Linked DNA regions of Homo sapiens: regions 2 and 3 are each linked to region 1. Evidence: promoter capture Hi-C in 16 types of primary human blood cells and fetal thymus (Javierre and others, 2016). All regions are on one chromosome and are shown on one strand. Each heading gives the region's core, a stretch centred on a gene start or on the middle of the fragment in contact. The rest is flanking DNA. Distances are from core to core; before and after follow the strand shown.

Region 1 (3,474 bases), core at 530-3,029:
AATATATTCCCTTTTAAGCCCTTAAGTGTAGCTTTAAGGAAGGTTATAGAATTTGGAAGACCAGAGTATAACACCTTTACATCTGAATCTATTAATTTTTATGTGACTCCTTTAAAATTATAAGTCTTCATATATTGCTTGCATAATAGCTTCTGTATATAATTAGTGATAAGACAAAAACAAAAGATTCAGAATATGCAACTTAAAAACCATTGTTTTTTCCAAATGTTTGTGAAAATTGCATATAATCCATAACTTAAAATCAGGAAGAAATATGTATTCGATGTAATTGTGTAGTTTAGAAAGATTTAACAGAAGAAATCCAGGTGTCTAGATTCTCATCTCAGACTACTGATTCTAGGAAAGCTCCTTTGCTGTGGTTCAGTAGAGAGATGTGTTAGGTGACTGCATTCCCATTAACCTGCCTTCTTTGTTGTCTGCACAGATGTTTAGCTCTGAGCCCACCATAGATGGAAATCAGTCCCTGTGTGCCAAATTCACATTTGTGGCTTTTTCTTCTATAGAAGAATTACAGCTTGTACTCTTCATTGTGTTCTTAATCATCACTTATGCACTATAGGAGGAAATATCATCATCATCTCCCTGATCTGGATCACCCCTGCCCTGCACACTCCAATGTATTTCTTCCTGGTGAACCTCTCATTTCTGGAGATGTGCTATACCACCAGTGTGGTGCCTCATGCTGGTGCACCTGCTGGTGGAGACCAAAACCATAAGTGTGGGTGGCTGTGCAACCCAGATGTACATATTTGCCATCTTGGGACTGACAGAATGCTGCTTGCTAGCAGCTATGGCTTACGATCGCTTTGTAGCTATTTGTTACCCACTGCATTACACTCTCTTCATGGGCCCTCGTGTTTGTTTGAAATTGGCTGCAGCATCTTGGTTCACTGGAGTGGTGGTGGAGTCAGCCCAGATCACCCTGATCTTCACTTTGCCTTTCTGTGGAACAGGAAAGATTCAACACTTTTTTGTGACATAATGCCTGTACTGAAACTGGCTTGTATTGATACCTCCCAAATTGAAATTGTGATGTTTTCTCTCTCCGTGCTATTTATTGTGAGTCCTTGTTTCCTCATTCTGTGCTCCCACATGCACATCCCTGTGACCATCTTGAGAATCCCTTCAGCAGCTGGAAGACACAAAGCTTTCTCCACTTGTTCTTCTCATATCTTGGTTGTTTCTCTGTTCTATGGCACTGCCTTGTTCACTTATCTGCAACCTAAGACTGCACACACTCCAGAAACAGACAAAGCAACTGCACTCATGTACACAATGGTCACACCTGCTTTGAATCCTGTTATCTATACCTTGAGGAACAAGGAAGTAAAGGAAGCCTTTCAAAGGATAACCCAAAGGAACTCTCTTAGACAAACGGCCTAAACCAGTCATAGTAGCTGAAACCTATGCTACTGTACAGAGAGGTTACCCGATTTTATGATTCTTCTACCAACATATTCTTTTATTAAAGCATTTATAGCCTAGCTACCAAAAAACATTTGGATTTGTCACACATTTTTCAATGTCTGTAAGTAAAAGGAAACTACACAGTAGATTCATTCAATTGTTAATCATTCATTCATTCAACAGTATTTACAGGGCATCTCATGTGTCAAGCTACCATTTTCTCCTTCTCCAGTGGTAATAGCATTAAGTCCAGTATGTTTCATGCCATTTTCCTGAGGAAAATGAAATATCCTTTATGAGTATAAAACAAAAAATGAAATAAACAGGAAGTAATACTATTTTAGTATCAAATATAGTCTATTAGAATTTAAGTTCTTAATTGGAGTATGCTCCTTTAATTAGTGTGCTCTCTGTACATCTTAAGGTCATACATATTAAATAACCAACTGTTAATAAATACTAATGAGTGGTGTACACCATGAAAGAACTTTAAATATTTAGTTTGTAAATCCAGTGAGAGACCTGAATTCTTTATCTGAAACATGAGTTTTCCTTTGCTCTTATCCACCTGTTTTTTGTTGGTTTGTTTATTTGTTTTTCATGTGAGTAAAGACTTAGGGAAATGTCTGCCTTTGAGACATACAATCTTATTACACCTATTGTAAACCCTGTTTAAATGTATTGATTTAAATATAATTTTCTTTTGTCACGGTGTATATATTCTAGCTAATATATATTGTTTTTGTCTCTTTGAATAATAAAAAGCAAGTCTTCTATAAGACACTAAAACAAAGAACTTTAAAAAACTGTTGGTTTCTTATGGCAACTTTAGAGAAGTTGACAAAAATGTAAATGTTCAGAGACATTTTGTCAACCTGAAAGTTTTTTGATTTTATCTTAGTGTTGATACTCTAGAGTCAAACTCTAATACAAGTGCAATTAATTTATTTGAAAGAAGCTTGGAAGTGGGAAAACGATACACATGAGTTAAGAAAAACAGTGTGTCCATTATTATGTCAGGTTCCATAAATAACCACTAAAATTTAATCTTGTGAAGGAAATAGGAGAAGAGGTTTTGGGTATAGACTACAAGGGGAGCAACGGCAATATAGCTGGCCCCTTTCTGAAGAGGTTCTCAACACTGAAGTAAGGTAGACTTAACAGTGCTGCAAGAAAATGATGCATATTATCATTGGGAAACCTAATAGCTTTTGTGGAATAACATGCAATCATATTGACAGAACTGCATTGTTAACTACATATTATCACTGTCTGGGACTCACTCAGTAAAGAAATGTGCCCTTTTCTCTCCCTCATTCATGACATATCAATTCACAGGAGAATATAAGGTCTAAAAACATTTGGCATTGCCTGAGTTTTGAATTAAATGAGATTGAAAATTTTTAAATTCTCTCAATTTTAATAACTAATAGATATCTGAAGGTTATAAAATTGACAGAGACAAAGCATTAAAAGGGGGAATTAAAAGAGCAATATTACACCTACAATCATCTGATCTTTCACAAAATGAACAAAAAGAAGCAATGGGGAAAAGATTCCCTGTTCAATAAATGGTGCAGGGATAACTGGCTAGCCCTATGCAGAAGATTGAAACTGGACCCCTTCCTTAAGCCATATATAAAAATTAACTCAAGATGGATTAAAGACTTAAATGTAAAACCCAAAACTATAAAAACCTTGGAAGACAACCTAGGCAATACCATTCAGGACTTAAGCACGGGCAAACATTTCATGACAAAGATGACAAAAGCAATTGCAACAAAAGAAAAAATTGACAAATGGGATCTAAATAAACTAAAGAGCTTCTGCACAGTAAAAGAAACTCAACAGAGTAAACAGACAACCTACAGAATTGGAGAAAACTTTTCAAAATATGCATCTGAAAAAGGTCTAATATCCAGAATCTGTGAGAACTTAAACAAATTTATAAGAAAAAAAAACGAACAACCCTATTAAAAAGTGGGCAAAGGACATGAACAGACACTTCTCAAAAGAAGACATACATGTAGCCCATAATCATAGAAG
Region 2 (3,474 bases), core at 705-3,204, 490 kb before region 1:
AACTGTCGTGCCCCTGACCTTTTCTGCATCCCCTGCTACCGCCTTCAAAGTGCATGTGAAGAACCTCATAACTGAAAGGAGTGGCTGGTGGGAGATCTTTAAAGCCTGACCAGAATAACCGAGGGCATGCAGAAGGGGAAACTGAGAAACAGGAGTGGAGGGCTCATTGTATTATTATTATTATTATTATTTTTTGAGACAGAGTCTCAGTCTGTTGCTCAGGCTGGAGTGCAATGGCGTGATCTCGGCGCACTGCAACCTCCACCTCTCAGGTTCAAGCGATTCTCCTGCCTCAGCCTCCCAAGTAGCTGGGATTACAGGCATGAGCCACCACGCCCGGCTACTTTTTGTATTTTTCAGTAGAGACAGGGTTTCACCATGTTGGCCAGTCTGGTTTCAAACTCCTGGCCTCAAGAGATCCACCTGCCTTGCCTCCCAAAGTGCTGGATTACAGGCGTGAGCCACCTCGCCCAGCTGGGCTTATTGTATTCTGAGATACACGCACAACCTCTCTCACAAAACCCAGATGCATGCACAAGCTGCTTCCTGGACATCGCTGTGAACATCCCAGGGAAACCTCAGGCCCAACTCTTGACTGAAGCTGGGGTTCCTCAAGCTCCTCGCCTCACTATACTCTCCCTAGGTGATCTCAAACCTAGTAAGTCCAAAACAGCTTTCTTCCATCTCAGCAAATGGCACTTTTCATCAGCTCTCCCCTCAGTTGCTCATGCTAGAAACCTGGAAACTATTCTGAACGTTCTCTCCACAGTCTGATGGATTCTACTCTACTTCCCCTACTATCTTTACCTAGAACACTCTTTTATTTTCCCCACCCCGTCCACACTCTGCTTAATCCCTCAGATCTCTCTCTCTCTCTCTCTTTTTATTTATTTATTTATTTTTTTTGATACAGGGTCTCACTCTGTGGCCCAGGCTGGAGTGCAGTGGTGCGATCATAGTTCACTGTAACTTTGAACTCGGGCTCAAGTGATCCTCCCACCTCAGCTTCCTGAGTAGCTAGGACTATAGGCATGTGCCACCACGCCTGGCTAGCTTTTGTATTTTTTTTTTTTTTTTTTTTTGTAGAGACGGCATCTCACTATGTTGCCTTGGCTGGTCTTGAACTCCTGGGCTCAAGTCATCCTTCTGCTTCAGCCTCCCAAGCACAGATCTCGATTTAAACCTCAGTTCCTTAGGTGTCCTCCCCACTCCCCTCCCTGTCCCATGGTGGTAGGTGATCCTCCTGTTGCTTCCACAGCACCCAATTGTGCCCCGTCATGGCACTGGTCATGTCTCCTATTCACCAGCAGGTAGAGGTGGATGGGGTGTCTAATGTGCTACTTACTACCTCAGACGCCCCATTCTGGGGGCCGAACCCTGGGGCGGCTGATGCTGCGTTTGCCTGCCCCACACCCATCCCCTTCCCACCCTGCTTACCGGTCTCAGTACTCTCCGGACCTCCTGCAGGACCTTCCTTGGGCTCTGCACAGAGCACAGCACCAGAGTGCAGACCACCACATCCATGGAGCCATCAGCCAGCTGTCTCATGTCCTCTCCAGGAGCCACCACAAACCGCTCATATTGGAGGTGCCTGTTCTCAGCCATGCTCTTTGTCAGGAACTTCTCAAAGTGGGGATTTGGGTCTAGGCAGGTGACCCTGCAGCCCGGTGGGTAGAACTGAAAGTTGGCTCCGGTTCCGCAGCCCAGCTCCAGTAGGGCCACTTTCCCGGAGGCTCCTGTAAGCCCCTTTATCTGGCTGAAGAGCTCCCGTTTCTTGCTCTCCATCTTGCGGTTGCTCTTGGGAGTCAGCACGGCCATCAGGTAGGGGAAGTAGCTTTTGCACAGGGGCTGCCAGCAGCCCAGCAGAGCCATGAGGTGCAGGGGCAGGGTAAGAAGCAGCACCAGCAGCTGCAGGAGTGGGACCAGGATGTCCATGGCAGACCAGCTCTGAGCTGTGCTTCCGCTGGGGCACTGGCTTTTTCCCTGCTCAGCCTCTGCAGGCGCTGGCGTCCCCTCCCGCTGTGATAGGACTTTGCTCCTTGTCTCCTACTTGACAATTTCCTATTTGCCAGAGTTGAGTGGGTGTATGGAATTCCTCCAGAGGGCGCAGGTCCCACAGCCCCACAAGCTCTTCAATGACTTTTATGTGGGCGGAGGGACAGGTGGTACCCATGTTCCTGAGTTCTGGGGCACTGTGCCCAGCTGAAGGGGGGCAGGGGCTGCTGAGTCATCTCAGAGGGAGTGGGAAGGGGTAAGGGGATATGTTTCAGATGACAGACTCATGGCGGGGGAGTGTCGGGGGCTGGCAGGGCGTTGGGGGTGGGTTGGTAGTGGTGAATGCTGGGGACAGAGTTGACTCATGGGACATATCCTGGCCTCATTTCGTCCTCAGGTCAGGCACTTCAGAGGGGCCATAGGAAGGGAAGGGTGCTCTTGGCAGAGGAAAAAGTAGGTGTACAGGACAGAGACAGCATGCCCTCTCCTGGAAAGGGTGAGAAGTTTAGTTCTGTGGGGAATGGGGTAAGTTGGACAAATAGGGGGAAGTGAGGTCAGAGAATAGCCACTTTTTAGAGATCCTTCCCTCCCTCCCTCCCTTCCTCCCTTCTTTCCTTCTTTCCTTTTTTTGAGACAGGGTCTCTGCTGCCCAGGCTGGGGTGCAGTGGCAGCAGTCTGGGCTCACTGCAACCTCAATGTCCCTAGGCTCAAGTGATCCTCTTACACCAGCCTCCTGATTTTCTGGGACTACAAGTGCATACCACCATGCCCAGCAATTTTTTTTTTTCTGTAATTTGTAGAGACAGGGTTTCACCCTGTTGCCCAGGTTGGTCTTGAACTCCTGGGCTCAGGTGATCCACCCACCTCGACTTCCCAAAGTGCTGGGATTACAGTTGGGAGCCACTGCGCCTGGCTGAGAAGAATTCTTTTTACAAAACATTATTAAACAACTTTTTTTGGAAGAGGCAGTACATTCACTTAGTACAAAATTAAAAAGATACTAAAGAGATTACAGGGAAAATTCTCTCTTCTACTCCTGTGACCCAACCACTCAGATCTCCTCTCTGGAGGCACTAAATGCCATATTGCCAATTTCTTGTGAATCCTTCCAGAGATGACCTGTGAACGAGCAGGGAACACACACACCACGTGTTTAGATCCATGTACATATATACATATACATATTCCCTTTTCTTTTACAAATAGTAGTATATTGTACACACTCTTGTATACCTTGCTTCCCCCCCTTCTTAACAATGTATTGGATTTAGTAGATAATAGCAAATGGGTTTCCAAAGTGATTGTACCCATTTACACGTCCACCAGCAATATTTGGTTTTATGTGTCTTTTATGTGTTCATATTATTATTGATGCATAGATTCCTATTTTATTCACTGATTTGTAACCTAATACCCTATTTATTTATTTACAGTTTCTTTGAGGTATAATATATATAAGAAGGTTTACATATTTACAGT
Region 3 (3,474 bases), core at 640-3,139, 280 kb before region 1:
GAGTGCAATGGCATGATCTTGGCTCACTGCAACCTTCACCTCCTGGGTTCAAGTGATTCTCCTGCCTCAGCCTCCTGAGTAGCTGGGATTACAGGCACCCACCACCATGCCCGGCTAATTTTTGTATTTTTAGTAGAGACGGGGTTTAGCCATATCGGCCGGGCTGGTCTCGAACTCCTGACCTCGTGATCTGCCTGCCTCGGCCTCTCAAAGTGCTGGGATTACAGTCGTGAGCCACTGTGCCCGGCCTTAATTTTTATTAATCTCTTCACTGGTTATTAAAGTTATTAGACATGTGTTGTGTATACATCTCAATTAATCCTTCTAACTGAGATCAGAATTATTTTACCTTTTTTTTGTAGATGAAAAAACTAAAGTAAGAAAGTTAGTTTTCCCAAGACCATATAACTAATAATAATGGAGAAAATTCCAAATTTTATTAAACTTTTCTAAAAATTTCAAGATCTTTGACTTTAAACTGTTAACTTAGCCATTTTACACTTTCTTATGTCTTATTTTTTTCGTTTGTTTGTGATACTCAGCTTAACATTTAAAAATTAATTATTAAACAATAAAGAAGCTTCCCAAACTTTAACCCTGAGAGTGGATTGCCTTTTTTCTCAGTAGCCATTGATAAGTTATTTCTCAGATCCTTAGCTGGATTTTAAGTCCACTTTCTAATTCCTAGCAGTCTGTCACCTTTGCTTTACTTCTGTACTATTACTCACTTCACTTTTTTCATTGGCAACCTGATACTCTGGGAAACCTACAATAACAAACTTAAAATACCATCAGAATCCTTTTGTCCCATTCAAATGATTACACCCTTCCTACCCCATTATTTCCCTAAATTAATAGTCGTTGGTTACCTGCATGAATAATTGTTGGGGACTCAGATAGTGTGGCAAGAAAGCACTGATTTTTCACTCACAGTATTACATCTAGAAAGTAGGTTTAGACTGTAGGTACCTGTAACTGTAGCGACTTGGAAGAGATGCAATGTTTTATCTGTTTTCTTTCTTACTCCTATGGTCTTGATTACACAAGACAAAATTTTTAAGTCCTAAATAGACTTTTTTTTTGTAAATGTGGCAATATATGCATAATATTAAGTTTTGAGTTTCCTAGATTCAACTAGTATTTATTTTGTTGTGGTATCAACTCATACTTTTTAGGGGCATTTTTCCGTATCTTCATATGTAGTTCATAGAGAAGTTGAAAAAGGCTGTATAGCAGGGCTTTAAACAAATGTCACTTTAATATAATATAATGTAAAGTTTCAAAATTTGACTGTAGGTCTTTTAATTCTTAACAAAAAAGACAGGGTCTCTCTCTGTCACCCAAGCTGGCATCTCCCTATGTTGCTCACGCTGATCTTCAACTCCTGGCCCCAGGCGATCCCCAGTTTGGCCTCCCAAGTGCTGGGATTACAGGCATGAGTCACTGTGCCTTCCCTTAACTTAGGTCTTAATTCATTACACTGGCATCATTTTCTTTAGATGAAATTAATAATTTTAAAATGAATGAACTATTTTTGAATCCTGAACCAAGATCTTTACCTAATTTATTTACAACTTGACAAACCTGGAATTAGTTACAATTAAGTGGAATCTTGAAGTGGAAGCATGAAAAAAACTAGCTTGAAAATCAACTATTAAGGGCTTTGCAAATCAATTTTCCAAAGTGAGATGATGTTTGTTGTACTTTTAAACCCCTAGTTTACAATTTCTGTTGCATAGTTCTATATCATATCTTCAACATCCATGGAGTACTACCTCTTAAATGTATATGTTTGTAAGTGTGGAAACTTTCCTGTATCTTTTCCTGGACCTAGCTCAACCCTTGCACCTTTTTATTCCTAGAATTTGATTGAAATCACAACAGAGAAATGAAGAATCATACAAGGCAGATAGAATTTATTCTTCTGGGACTGACGGATAATTCTCAGTTACAGATTGTAATTTTCTTATTTCTACTTCTAAATTGTGTGTTGAGCATGATAGGGAACTTCACTATCATTGCCCTCATTCTGCTGGATTCCCAGCTCAAGACTCCAATGTATTTCTTCCTCCGTAATTTCTCTTTTCTGGAAATTTCATTCACAACTGCTTGCATTCCCAGATTCCTAATCACCATTGTTACCAGGGAAAAGACCATTTCCTGTAATGGTTGCATATCTCAGTTGTTTTTTTACATATTCTTGGGGGTTACAGAATTTTTCCTTCTAGCTGCTCTGTCCTATGATCGCTATGTTGCCATCTGCAAACCTTTGCGTTATATGTCCATCATGAGTAACAAAGTTTGCTACCAGCTTGTATTCAGTTCTTGGGTAACTGGATTCCTGATCATTTTCACTCCACTGATTTTAGGTCTTAACTTGGATTTCTGTGCTTCAAATATCATTGATCATTTCATTTGTGACATTTCTCTTATCCTACAACTTTCTTGCTCAGACACACATTTACTGGAACTGATTGCCTTTTTATTAGCTGTGATGACACTTATTGTCACATTGTTTTTAGTAATCCTTTCTTACTCTTACATCATCAAGACAATTCTGAAATTCCCTTCAGCTCAGCAAAAGAAGAAAGCCTTTTCCACCTGCTCTTCTCACATGATTGTTGTCTCCATCACTTATGGTAGTTGTATGTTTATCTACATAAAGCCATCAGCGAATGAAAGAGTTGCTTTAAGCAAAGGAGTAACTGTGCTCAATACTTCAGTTGCCCCGTTGTTAAACCCATTTATTTATACTCTGAGGAATCAGCAAGTTAAACAAGCCTTCAAAGCTGTATTTAGAAAGATATTTTCTGCTTCAGACAAGTAATACAACTTGTTGAAATAATTAACATGAAAACATAAAAGGATCTTTGAACAAAACACTAATTTGACTCTTCTAGTTTAAGAATTGATACCCAATATTCAATTATTTGTATGACTTTAGCTTGTCCAACAATCAGAACGTTTTTCATTCTATCCATTCTGACTTTAATTTTCTCTTTTTCAGTATTCAAACCTTTCTGTATTAGAAAGAAAACAATTGCAAAATTGATTTTCTCTAAAAGCATGTTAGAATAAAATAAATGAGTGGTTTTCAGTGATTATAGAATATAAGTTCTTCAAGAGTTTGATCTAAATAATTTATAAAAATTAAAAAATTATTTAAGAAAATTTGCGGGTACATAGTAGGTGTATAAATTTATGGGGTATATGAGATGTTTTGATACAGGCATTCAATGTGAAACAAATGCATCATGGAGAATGGTGTACCCATCCCCTCAAGTACTTATCCTTTGAGTTACAAGCAATCCTATTACATTTTTAAAGTTATTTAAAAATATACAATTTAGTTATTATCGACTGTAGTCTCCCTGTTGTGCTATTAAATAGTAGATCTTATGCTAAGTAATTTAAAGAAATGTACCTTGTTTTAGTTAAATGCCATGTTCTTTAAAAGTCTTAGATAAATCAAAT

Evidence for each region. Contacts are between HindIII fragments. The CHiCAGO score rates a contact against its expected background, and 5 or more counts as called.
Region 2: a contact is called between the fragment with the promoter of TMT1B here and a fragment that was not itself captured in region 1, in 4 of 17 cell types (monocytes, neutrophils, erythroblasts and 1 more). The highest score is 7.3, in monocytes.
Region 3: the fragment with the promoter of OR6C70 here is called in contact with a fragment that was not itself captured in region 1 in 2 of 17 cell types (M1 macrophages and M2 macrophages); the score reaches 5.2 in M1 macrophages.

Annotation. Positions count from the first base shown.
Region 1 is chr12:55,191,788-55,195,261 of GRCh38, reverse strand. It overlaps the pseudogene OR10U1P. Among named protein-coding and RNA genes, the nearest start is that of OR10A7, 28 kb to the left of the region's middle. The HindIII fragment of the contact is 1,218 bases long and covers 1,171-2,388 here.
Region 2 is chr12:55,680,216-55,683,689 of GRCh38, reverse strand. TMT1B (thiol methyltransferase 1B) reads right to left here and starts at 1,954. Exons shown (of 2, transcript NM_152637.3): 1 at 1,438-1,954. The coding sequence starts at 1,935. RefSeq lists an enhancer at 1,620-2,295. The HindIII fragment of the contact is 9,637 bases long and covers 1-3,474 here.
Region 3 is chr12:55,468,553-55,472,026 of GRCh38, reverse strand. It overlaps OR6C70 (olfactory receptor family 6 subfamily C member 70), which reads left to right and starts at 1,889. Exons shown (of 1, transcript NM_001005499.1): 1 at 1,889-2,827. The coding sequence starts at 1,889. The coding sequence ends at 2,827. The HindIII fragment of the contact is 2,936 bases long and covers 583-3,474 here.